2 separate regions of the Homo sapiens genome follow, and region 2 is linked to region 1. The links are contacts of gene promoters, found by promoter capture Hi-C in human tissues and cell types (Jung and others, 2019). All regions are on one chromosome and are shown on one strand. Each heading gives the region's core, a stretch centred on a gene start or on the middle of the fragment in contact. The rest is flanking DNA. Distances are from core to core; before and after follow the strand shown.

What was found. The method cuts DNA at HindIII sites, captures the fragments that hold promoters and counts their contacts. A contact is called where the count stands out against the background at its distance.
Region 2: a fragment that was not itself captured here is called in contact with the fragment with the promoter of VSTM1 in region 1 in 4 of the 25 tissues and cell types used here (liver, mesendoderm cells, spleen and 1 more).

The regions. Positions count from the first base shown.
Region 1 is chr19:54,062,647-54,068,931 of GRCh38, forward strand. VSTM1 (V-set and transmembrane domain containing 1) reads right to left here and starts at 1,251. Exons shown (of 9, transcript NM_198481.4): 1 at 1,098-1,251. The coding sequence starts at 1,131. The HindIII fragment of the contact is 40,052 bases long and covers 1-6,285 here.
Region 2 is chr19:53,902,132-53,908,416 of GRCh38, forward strand. It overlaps PRKCG (protein kinase C gamma), which reads left to right. Exons shown (of 18, transcript NM_002739.5): 15 at 942-1,022; 16 at 2,504-2,611; 17 at 4,186-4,326; 18 at 4,576-5,521. The coding sequence ends at 4,764. Among named protein-coding and RNA genes, the nearest start is that of CACNG7, 4.0 kb to the right of the region's middle. RefSeq lists an enhancer at 5,232-5,773. The HindIII fragment of the contact is 5,202 bases long and covers 697-5,898 here.

The DNA.
Region 1 (6,285 bases), core at 1-2,500:
CCAGGAGGTGGAGGTTGCAGTGAGCTGAGATCACACCACTGCACTCCAGCCTGGGAGACAAAGCAAGACTCTGTCAAAAAAAAAAAAAAATGCTCATCTAAGGTGCAAATGTGTGTAGGAGACGAGCATTACCCCACAAGGAAGGGCTGCACCCAGAAAAGGAGGAAGGAACTGAAGCAGACGAAGCACGTCGATGTCCACCGCACCCCCCGTGCACCAGGGAGGAACTGGGGCCTTAGGGAGGTGGAGCTCTGCTGGGTCAAGCCTAGAGTTTCTATGTAGTAAAGCCGAGATTATAACCCAGGTCATCCGTTTCACAGTGTGAGCTCTGTCTGAATACATCAGGTTCAATTGGAGGATGGTTAAAATCAGCCTAAGAATCGAGCTGGTCAGAAAATTGTCTTCTTGGGGCCAGGTGTGGTGGCTCACGCCTGTAATCCCAGCACTTTGGGAGGCTGAGGCGGGCGGATCACCTGAGGTCAGGGGCTCGAGACCAGCCTGACCAACATGGTGAAACCCCGTCTCTACTTAAAATACAAAAGTCAGCCGGGTGTGGTGGCCTGCACCTGTAGTCCCACCTACTCGGGAGGCTGAGGCAGGAGAATCGCTTGAACCTGGGAGACGGAGGTTGCAGTGAGCCCAGATCACGCCATTGCACTCCAGCCTGGGCTACAGAGTGAGACTCTGTCTCATAAATAAATGCATACATACATAAATAAATAAATAAGAGAGAGAGAGAAGAAAATTGTCTTTTTGCCCACAGCCTTGCACCCTGTAGATCCCTAAGCCCAGCCCTCCTCTATTCCGACGGAGGATGATGGCAGTACTGCGGTATTTAGCGGCTGCAGACTCGGAGACCCCACAGCAGCTCTGCCTTTCCCAGCGGAGTCTGTCCCCGTGTCTCTGCAGCGCGGCCTCCTCCTCGCTTGCATGTGGGCGGCAGAACTCACAGAACCCACAGCCCAGACCCACCCACCGCAGGTGTGCAACACCTGGAAGTCATTACTTCCACACACCGCATTTCCACCTGGACTGCCACTCCCACATGAGTTTTTCTCACCAGCCCAAGCCCATTCGTCCCAGTCCTGGAGACTCACCGAGGCAAAGCAGGGAGAGGAATTCTGCGGTCATAGCGTCCCTTCTGCCAGAACCAAGGCCCCGCCTTGGGTTTTACCCTTCAAAGGCGGAGCGGGACTGGGCCGGCCGCAGCTCTCCGGCTGCCCGGTTCGTCCCCAGGATGTGCAGATAGAGGAGGTTTTGCTCTGACACTCTGGTTCTCTGCCCCACTCTTGCAGTTTCCTTCTCACAACCGACTCAGGAAACAAGAAGCCGTCGATGATAACTTCTTCCCCATGAATCCGGTGTGTGTGGCCCCACCCGCCCGAGCTCTGTCCTACCTTATCTGAAGTTCTGCCAAGAGTTTTCTGTAAATGTAATTTTTTATTTTAAAACACTAATACCGGCCGGACGCGGTGGCTCACGCCTGTAATCCCAGCACCTTGAGAGGCTGAGGCGGGCGGATCACCTGAGGTCGGGAGTTCAAGACCAGCCTGACCAAAATGGAGAAACCCCCGTCTCTACTAAAAATACAAAATTAGCCAGGCATGGTGGCGCATGCCTGTAATCCCAGCTACTCCGGAGGCTGAGACAGGAGAATGGCTTGAACCCAGGAGGCGGAGGTTGCTGTGAGCCAAGATTGTGCCACTGCACTCCAGCCTGGACAACAACGGTGAAACTGTCTCAAACAAGCAAACAAACAAACATTAATACCTATAGCTTTATAGCTTCCGTGTACCCACTAGCCAGCTCCCCACAATGTTAACCTTTTTTTGGGGGGCGGGGGGGACAGAGTCTTGCTCTGTCACCCAGGCTGGAGTGCAGTGGCGCGATCTCGGCTCACTGCAACCTCTGCCTCATGGGTTTAAGGATTCTCCTGCCTCAGACTCCCAAGTAGCTGGGATTACAAGCATGCACCACCACACCCAGCTAATTTTTTGTAGAGATGGGATTTCACCATGTGGGCCAGGCTGGTCTTGAACTCCTGGTCTCTAGTGACCCGCCCACCTCAGCCTCCCAAAGTGCTGGGATTACAGGCATAAGCCACTGTGCCCGGCCAATGGTAATCTCTTATAATTACAGTACTTTTTTTTTTTTTTTTTTTTTTTGAGACAGAATCTCTGTCAGCCAGGCTGGAGTGCAGTGGCACAATCTTGGCTCACTGCAACCTCTGCCTCCCGGGTTCAAGCGATTCTCCTGCCTCAGCCTCCCGAGTTGCCGGGATGACAGGTGTCCGCCACCACTCTTGGCTAATTTTTTTTGTTCTTTTTAGTAGAAACGAGGTTTTGCCATGTTGCCCAGGCTGGTCTCGAACTTCTGACCTCAGGCGATCCGCCTGCCTCGGCCTCCCAAACTGCTGGGATTACAGGCGTGAGCCACCACGCCCGGCGTATGGCACATTTTCAAAACCAGAGACTTTGCACTGGCATCACACGTTTAACCAGGTTCCAGAGGTCACTCAGATCTCACCAGTTTGTGCATAATTCGTTTCTCTTTTTCTCTTCCTCTTCCTTCTATTTCTATTTCCTTTTCTCCTTTTCCTTCTTTTCTCCTGCTCTTCCTCCTCTTCCACCTTCTTTTCCTCCTCCCTTTTCTTTGCCTATGGGTATAGTTCTGTAACATTTTATTGCCTGTATGTATGGCTTTATAGAACCACCGCCACAATCAAGACACAGAACTGTCCCACCACCACGTAGGAACTCCCTCATGCTGCCCCTTTATAATCGCTCTCCCACCCTAGCACCTGCTAATCTGTTCTACGTCTCTATCACTTTGTCACTTTGAGACTCTTGTATAAATGGAATCGTCCATCGCCTCACCTTCTGAGGGTGACCTTTTTCACTCAGCACAATGCCTGTGAGATTCATTCAAATGGTTGTGTGTTATGATGATGGATACATTAGCCGGGCGTGGTGGCACACGCCCATAGTCCCAGCTACTCAGGAGGCTGAGGCAGGAGAATCGCTTGAACCCGGGAGGCGGAGGTTGCAGTGAGCTGAGATCACGCCACTGCACTCCAGCCTGGGTCACAGAGCAAGACTCCATCAAAAAAAAAGAATTATCTAATGGATACAATGTGTGTCACTGGGTTAGTGGATACCTGAAAGCCCTAACTTCATCATTTTGGAATCTATCCATGCAATAAAGTTACACTTGTACCCCATAAACGTATACAAATAAAAAATAATCGTCTGGGCATGATGACTTACCGCTGTAATCCCAGCACTTTGGGAGGCTGAGGCGGGATTACAGGTGTGAGCCACCATGCCCGGCCTATACTTTCTATCTTAATAACTACAAAAATAATAACTTGCTGGATGGGTCCCTGTGCCCACCCCGTCCTGTCCTAAGTGAGGAGGATGGGAAGAAAGCCATCGTCCTGTCCTGGTGCGGCTCTCAAACAGCTGGAAATGCTGGCTGCACAGGAAACTCTAAGGATCGGCAGCTCTAGCGCATGCTACCCTTGGCAGCTGTGTGGTCTGTGGATAGAGAAGGACCAACCTGTGGTTAGTGGAGGAAGAGGAGGAATATTGCTTTGATAAGCACATCCTCAGAGTTATAACAGAGGAGACAATAGTTATAAAATAAGAATGATATTTACGAAAAATAATAAGACTATTAACAAGAAACAGCAACAAATCTTGAAAACAAAATGTAACAACAAAACATAAATGTTGACTTTTTTTTTTTTTTTTTTTTTGAGACGGAGTCTCGCTCTGTCGCCCAGGCTGCAGTGCAGTGGTGAGATCTCGGCTCACTGCAACCTCTGCCTCCCGGGTTCCAGCAATTCTCCTGCCTCAGCCTCCTGAGTAGCTGGGATTACAGGCATGCACCACCACGCCCAGCTAATTTTTGTATTTTTAGTAGAGATGGGGTTTCACCATATTGGCCAGGATGGTCTCGATCTCTTGACCTTGTGATCCGCCCACCTCGGCCTCCCAGAGTGCTGGGATTATAGGCATGAGCCACAGCACCTGGCAACTGTTGACATTTTACATCTGCACCAGTAAGACTGGCTACCAATTACAAGCAAATGGATGCCATGGATAGAATGGAATTCCTGCCAAACTGGGTAAAATGTTGGAAACATATAAAATAAAATGTAAAAGAAATGTATTATAAATACAGGCTGGGCGTGGTGGCTCATGCCTGTAATCCCAGCACTTTGGGAAGCCAAGGTGGGCAGATCACTTGAGGTCAGGAGTTCGAGACCAGCCTCGCCAACATGGTGAAACCCCGTCTCTACTAACACACAAAAATTAGCCAGGCATGGTGGTGGGCGCCTGTAATCCCAGCTACTTGAGAGGCTGAGGCAGGAGAGTCACTTGAACCTGAGAGGGAGGTTGCAGTGAGCTGAAATTACGCCACTGCACTCCAGCCTGGGTGACAGAGTGAGACTCCCTCTCCAAAAAAAAAGAAAGAAAGAATGTATTATAAATACATATGACCAAGCACAGTGGCTAACGCCTGTAGTCCTGGCACTTTGGGAGGCCAAGATGAGAGGATCACTTGAGTCCAAGAGTTCGAGACCAAGTTGGGCCATATGGTGGAACCCGGCTTCTACAAAAAATACAAAATTTAGTCCGGCATGATGGCACACACCTGTGGTCCCAGCTACTCAGAAGGCTGAGATGGGAGGATTACTTTAGCCTGGGAGGTCGAGGCTGCAGTGAGCCGTGATCTAGCCACTACACTCCAGCCTGGGCGACAGAGTGAGACCCTGTCTCAAAATAAATAAATATAATAAATAAATAAATATGTATATCCCAATATTGGACTAAATGCTGGTCCAGAAGCACAAAATAGAAAGAACGGAGAGGAAGTATTAATAAATATTACACAGGAAGCAATGTTTTTCCCTTCGTGTGGAGGAAGAGTTCCCCGCAGGTGAGAGTCACCTACTACTCAATCTGACTCTGAAGTTTTAAGTATTGATTCAAGTTATCAAAAATGTATTAAGGGCTGGGCACGGTGACTCAAGCCTGCAATCCCAGCACTTTGGGAGGCCGAGGTGGGCTGATCACTTGAGCTCAGGTGTTCAAGACCAGCCTGGCCAACATGGGTGAAACCCCATCTCTACTAAAAGTACAAAAATTAGCTGGGCATGGTGGCAGGCGCCTGTAATCCCAGCGACTTGGGAGGCTAAGGCAGGAGAATCGCTTAAACCCAGGAGGTGGAGGTTGCAGTGAGCCGAGATCTTGCCATTGCACTGCAGCCTGGGTGACAGAGCGAGACTCCGTCTCAAAGAAAAAAAAAAAAAGTATTACGTGGCTCATTGTGCCCAATTCTGTCCTCTGTCCCCAGTGAAAAGTACAGGAAGAAGAAAGCCACCATCCTGCCCTACAGCAGATCCCAACAGAGCTGAGAGTGCAGGTTCCACAGAAAGCGGTTAAGGCTCAGCTGGTCCAACCCATCATTCCCTGGGCAGCTGTGGGATCTATGGCTAGAGAAGAACAGAGCTGAGCTTAGAGGGGAAGGAAGAGGAGGAAGATTGTTTTCTCCCGGCATCCAAACACAGCTTTTCAACCAGGGGGAGCACCACCCTCACTTCCCATCGCCCCATCCAGGGATATTTGAAAGGTATGAGAGTAGTGGCTTTTTTGTTGTTGTTGTTTCACAATAATTAGGTCTCCAACAGGTGTTCAATGGGAAAGGAAGTATTAGCAATGTCGAGTTACGTGTTCCTATAATGGACAAGACAGTCTCACATGGTGAAGGACTATTGCACTTTAAACACCATTTGTGGCCATGCCCGGTGGTGCACACCTGTAATCCCAGCACTTTGGGAGGCTGAGGCAGGTGGATCACTTGAGGCCAGGAGTTCGAGACCAGCCTGACCAATGTGGCGAAACCCCGTCTCTCCTAAAAATACAAAAAAATTAGCCAGATGGTGGCAGGTGCCTGTAGTTGCAGCCACTTGGGAGGCTGAGGCAGGAGAATCACTTGAACCTGGCAGGCGGAGGTTGCAATGAGCCGAGATCGCACCACTGCACTCTGGCCTGGGCGACAAAGCGAGACTCTGTCTCAAAACAAACAAACAAACAAAAAAACAAAAAATACCATTTGTGCCCATGTGGAGAAACGTGTGAAGTCCCCATGGTAGAGTCTGATGTTTAAAGAACCCCATATGGATTGAATGCACAGCAGGGCGGCTACAGTTCACAAGGCTGCACTGGGTAATTACAATTTGCTAAGAAGGTGGATCTTAAACAGAAAGGTCCATAAGCT
Region 2 (6,285 bases), core at 2,048-4,547, 160 kb before region 1:
GGCCAGACATGGTGGCTCATGCCTGTAATCCCAGCACTTTGGGAAGCTGAGGCAGGCAGATCACTTGAGGTCAGGAATTCAAGACCAGCCTAGCCAACATGGTGAAACCCCGTCTCTACTAAAAATACAAAAATTAGCTGGACATGGTGATGTGTGCCTGTCAACCCAGCTACTCAGGAGGCTGAGGCAGGAGAATCACTTGAACCCAGGAGGTGGAGGTTGCAGTGAGCCAAGATTGCACCACTGCACTGCATCCTGGGCTACAGAGTGAGACTCCATCTCAAAAAAGAAAAAAGATAAGAAAATTTGAAAACTACACACATATTCCTGACTCTGACACAAATATTCTAGGTGGGTGGAACCAGTGACTTGGCCGTTAGGTAGTCTTTCTATTTGAGGCCAAATGAATGTTTGAAGTAGGTATGCTTTGTTTCCAGAATATTCCAAAAGTTAGATCGCTGGCCAAAATATTCAGAGTGGAGGCTGGGCGTGGTGGCTCACTCCTATAATCCCAGCACTTTGGGAGGCGGAGGCAGGCCAATTGCTTGAGTCCGGGAGTTTGAGACCAGCCTGGGCAACATAGTGAGGACCTATCTTCACTAAAAGTGCAAAAATTAGCCAGGTGTGGTGGTGCACACCTGTAGCCCACCTACTTGGGAGGCTGAGGTAGAAGAATTACCTGAGCCTGGGAAGTTGAGGCTGAGTGAGCCGTGATCACACTACTGTGCTCCAGCCTGGGCAACAGAGTGAGACCCTGTCAAAAAAAAAAAAAAAAAAAAAAAAAACGAAACAAAAAATCACCTGATGAAATAAATATTCAGAGTGGGAAGAGCTTGTGCTGAAAGCACTTAACGTGGGTAGCGCTCCCAGGGGGTGAGGCCAGAGGGGTCCTAGGCTTCCTAAAGAACGCATCATGATTCCCTGCCTTCCACCTCCCCTAGATCATTGCCTACCAGCCCTATGGGAAGTCTGTCGATTGGTGGTCCTTTGGAGTTCTGCTGTATGAGATGTTGGCAGGACAGGTAAGGGAAGGTGGGGAGAAGCTGGCTTGGCTAAAAGAGACAGAGAGGGGCACCTGGATCTCAGGAGGAGCCAGTTAGAAAGGAGCCCAGAAGGTTGTGCTCGAATAGCGCTGTCCATGGTTCTGAAGTGTTGTCTTAATGTAGACCAGGTGTTTTGTTTTGTTTTGTTTTGTTTGTTCTGTTACCATGGATTCTTTCTCCCTAGATGGTAAAGTAGCAGTCTGGTTAAGCCTATGGATCCCTTCTCAGAAGAATGTTTTTCAATGCACAAAATAGAATAATACATACGCAGAAAACCAAGGTTCAAATCCTCACTTTGCCACTTACTGGCTGTGTCAGCTTAGACAATTACATACATTCTAAATCAGCTTGATTGGATTCCTGGACTGCTGAGTGTACTACAACTAAAAAAATTGGTTACCACACTCTTGATCATCTTCTTAGCTGGCTATGGTAGTGGGCACCTATAGTCCCAGCTACTGGGGAGGCTGAGGCAGGAGGGTCACATGAGCCCAAGAACTCAAGGTTACACTGAACTATGAGTATGCCACTGTGTTCCAGCACAGGCGACAGAGCAAGACCCCATCTCAAAAGAACAAACAAACAAAAGAAATCAATCATTTTGAAAGATAGTCACCAAAACTTTTAAAATTTAATTGAATCTAACAACCAACTAAATTCAATGTATACAGTTGTCTAAATATTTAAAATTGGAAAATGGACATATGTGCAATTTCTTATTAATTCATTAAGTAGTAAGTTCTAATGGTAGTAAAGTAAAAAGGAGCTCTAACAGTAATTTTGATGTAGCAATGACTAATAATTTGGAATATCTGCAACTCTCATGTGATGAGAAAATACCTGTGATTACTATTGATAATGAAGCCACAAGCACTGCTGCTGCCTGCATTCATAACTGAAGGGAATGCTAAATTTTAGTTAGAAGTTAAAAAAAAATTTGGCCGGACATGGTGGCTCACGCCTGTAATCCAAGCACTTTGGGAGGCCGAAGTGGGCAGATCACTTGAGGTCAGGAGTTTGAGACCAGCCTGGCCAATATGATGAAACCCCATCTCTAAATCTTTGCCTTGGTATCATTTTTTGTAACCTCAGAAGACTGTGAACTACTCATCCAACCAGGAGAATGCTTTTAGGGTGTTTCCTGCAGTTTTTCCTCTCTTCTATTTAACTGACATGTTGCATAATTAACAGCCTGCTGATTTACATAGCAGATAAAGAGAGGCAGAATAGTACAGAGATGCACAGATCTGAGGCATCCGAGATAGGAAATGAGAGAACCTGAGAAGGAGAGAGATCAAGCTTTGGTGGTTTGGTCTGATCTCTCCTGAGGGTGTGGTCAGGTGTGCATGTGGGGCGTGTGATGGGTCAGGCATGTTCCCGGTGGGGTGAGGAGGGTGTGGAAGGTTTGGGGAAAGGCAGTTGGGCATGTCCCTGACTCTCTATCCCCTCCACTTTGATAGCCTCCCTTCGATGGGGAGGACGAGGAGGAGCTGTTTCAGGCCATCATGGAACAAACTGTCACCTACCCCAAGTCGCTTTCCCGGGAAGCCGTGGCCATCTGCAAGGGGGTGAGAGCCCCCTGACTCCCAGCTTCTCCAGGCTCACAACCACACACCCCATTGCTGTCTCTGTGCCTATTAGAAAAATGCTCCCATTCCTGAAGTCACTTTACTTCCATCTGTTGGAAAAGTTGATATGATGCATAGGTTTTGTTAGAACAATGATTTCCAGCCCTGTTGCCACGAGGCCTGGAGATGGCCTCTGTCTCATCCTTCTCTGTGACTCCCACTCCCCAGCTCCCTGCTTGCAGGAAGTGCTGAAAGTCCAGGGTGTCTGTCTGTCTAGAACTGGGTGGGTCAGGTAAACCCAACTTCTGCAGCTTTTCTTCCTGTGTGAACTTGGGTGAGTCACCAAAACTTTGTGAGCTTAACTCTCTTCAGGGGTTATGGAGTTGACACAGAAGAAAGCACCTGGCCCATAGCAGATTTTCAGCCCATGTCAGCACCTTCTGCGTCTAGCTGCTCTCTCTGCATCTCCCTGACAGTCTCTCTGGTTTCTGTCTCATGCCTCCCCTCCATCTGCATACGATGGGGCTCTCTGTGTTTCTTCCTTTTCTCTGTGTCTCCTTCTGCATCTCTGTCTACACTTTTGGGCCTTTGTCCAACCCCCCTACCCCCCATCTCTGTCCCCTCCTGTGTCCACTCTCATACACACACGCTACATCTCACCCTCCTCTCCTGCTGGCTTTCTGTCCTCCCTTTTCTCTGGGTCTCTGTCCCCATATTTGGTCTTTATTCCTCCCTCTGGGTGTGTGTTTCCTGGGTCTCTATCCTTCTCTCTTTCTGAATCTCTGTCCCCCTGGGTCTCCTCTGTCTCCTCCCTTCTCTGAGTTTCTGCCTTCTTACCTGGGGTCTCTGTACCACCCTCTGAATTTCTATTTCCCCTTTTCTCTGGGTCTGCAACCTCTCTTCCCCCATTCCCTCCCTCTTCCCCTTCATCTCCTCTACCCTTCCCTCCCTCCCCCTACCGACCTCCCTCTGTCCTTCACTCTCCCCTTCCCTCCCTCCCCCTACCCTTCCCTCTCCCCGTCCCTCTCTCCCCTTCCCTCTCTCCCCCTACCCCTTTTCCCTCTCCTCTTCTCCATCTCCCTCATGATTTGTTCTGTTTCTCTGTGTGTCCCTGGGTCTCTGGGTATGAATTTCATCTGCTATCATTTTCATGTATCCTCTCCTTCTTCCTGTCTCTCTCTCTCTCTCTCTCACTCACTCTCACCCTCTGTCTCTCTCTCTCTCTGTCCCTCTTCCTCTCTCTCTCCTCTCTGTCTCTCTCTGTCTCGCTCTCTGTCTGTCTCCCTCCTCCTCCTCCTCCCTCCTCCTCCTCCTCCTCCTCCTCCTCCTCCTCCTCCTCCTCCTTCTTCTTCTTCTTCTTCTTCTTCTTCTTCTTCTTTTCTTCTCTCTCTCTCTCCTTTCTTTTCCCTTCCTCCCTCCATTTGCCTGTTTCCCCTGGCTGTTCTTATCTCTCCGGATCTCATGCCTGTGTCTCTTGGTTCCTCCATCTGCCTGTCTCTGTCCCTCTTTCTCTGGGTCTACCTGTCCGGCACTCTGTCTGTTTGTCTGTCTGTCTCTCTCTGTGTTTCCCACAGTTCCTGACCAAGCACCCAGGGAAGCGCCTGGGCTCAGGGCCTGATGGGGAACCTACCATCCGTGCACATGGCTTTTTCCGCTGGATTGACTGGGAGCGGCTGGAACGATTGGAGATCCCGCCTCCTTTCAGACCCCGCCCGGTCAGTCACCCTCCAGGCAACAAAAACCTGGTCCCTGAAGGGGTGGGGTTCCCCTGGGCCTCAATATACCTGTATGTGGGGGTGGGGTTCCCTCTGCAGAGCCCCCCGCCCCCAACAAAAGGAGGTGCAGACACCATGAAGCATGAATAGAGATTCTGCAGGAGACAGGAGATGAGACTGGGGTACACAGAGGGACACCCGAGGAGCCCTCGGAGCTGCTTAACTTTCCCTCCCCCACGTCTCCCACAGTGTGGCCGCAGCGGCGAGAACTTTGACAAGTTCTTCACGCGGGCGGCGCCAGCGCTGACCCCTCCAGACCGCCTAGTCCTGGCCAGCATCGACCAGGCCGATTTCCAGGGCTTCACCTACGTGAACCCCGACTTCGTGCACCCGGATGCCCGCAGCCCCACCAGCCCAGTGCCTGTGCCCGTCATGTAATCTCACCCGCCGCCACTAGGTGTCCCCAACGTCCCCTCCGCCGTGCCGGCGGCAGCCCCACTTCACCCCCAACTTCACCACCCCCTGTCCCATTCTAGATCCTGCACCCCAGCATTCCAGCTCTGCCCCCGCGGGTTCTAGACGCCCCTCCCAAGCGTTCCTGGCCTTCTGAACTCCATACAGCCTCTACAGCCGTCCCGCGTTCAAGACTTGAGCGGAGCCCGATATTCTCCCTGACCTTAGCGTTCTGGACTCTGCCCCAATCGGGTCCAGAGACCACACCACTAACCATCCCCAACTCCATGGGGTTCGAGACTCCATCTTGGTAGTTCTGTGCCTCCCCCCAGACCCCGCCCCTGGGGAAATAGCCTCACGGGGTTGGCTGTTCCAGACTCAGGTTCCAGAACAGCCCTCGGCCTCCGAGGCTCCCCGCCTCCACTCTAGTTCTAGATGAGTGGGAGGCGTGCCCCCCTCCTCCAGTACGTCCCGCTGCTGTGCTCTGGGGATTTCTGGGATATATGGAGGATTCTTTCCCCAGAGGCTCCCAATCAGCTTTTGTTCTAGACTTCCCCATCCCGAAGCCATCACTTCTCCCCGCAGCCCGCCTGCCGTGCATGGCTCCTGTCTGGCTCGGACCCACCCCAACTCTCCCCAGTGCCTGCCACTCTCTGGGACTCTCCTCCTCCCCTCCTCTTCCCTTAGCCTCTCCCACCCGGCCACAGCTGCTGGAGAATAAATTTGGGATGCTGATGCTGAAGTGTTTGGATATTTTCTTGTAAGCTTGGAGAATGAACGGGGTGTGGAGGCGGGACAGTGACTGTACATAGACACAAACAGAGAAGGAAAGCACGGAGACCCACAAAGTGAGAGGGGAGACACCCACTGCAGGGGAGCAAGCAGAGAAGCGCGCGCAGACAGAGGCAGGAGACCCAGACAGACAGAGACAGGGAGAGAAAATATCACAGAGGGCACCAACGTGGACAGTGCACAGCGAGAGAGGGGCACGGAGATCACTGAGAGTGCCAGGTGGCGACCCCCGCGCAGAGACCCAGCGCGTCCGTGTTCACCAGAGCAGCCACGCAAGCTCACATGCACCCCCAGGCTCAGACACCGGGGAGAAGTCCTTCCCAAGCGGGGAGATCACAGTCTGGCCTCTTCTTGAGAGACCTAGAGACCTGATCAGAGGAAGAGACCCCCACGCCAGAGCAACCAAAAACAGCCAGAACCCGAGAGCCTAGGAATCGGCGACGGAGGCACACGGCAGGCAGACGCGCCTTCTGGGCCTCTTTCCCTTGACCCACTTGAGAGTCTGGGGAGTGCCGGGGACCGTGCAGATGGACTACATTTCCCCGCAGGCCTCGCGGCAGACCCTTCCCCCAAGTGCGGCTCCTTGCCGCCAGGGCTGATGGGAAATGTAGTCTCCGGTCAGGGCCAGACCAGTGGAGCGGTGTGCCTTGTCTGTGTGTTTGGAGGGGACTGAGCCCCAAAGCTTCGCAGTCTTCCTTGCGGACCCGGGCACGT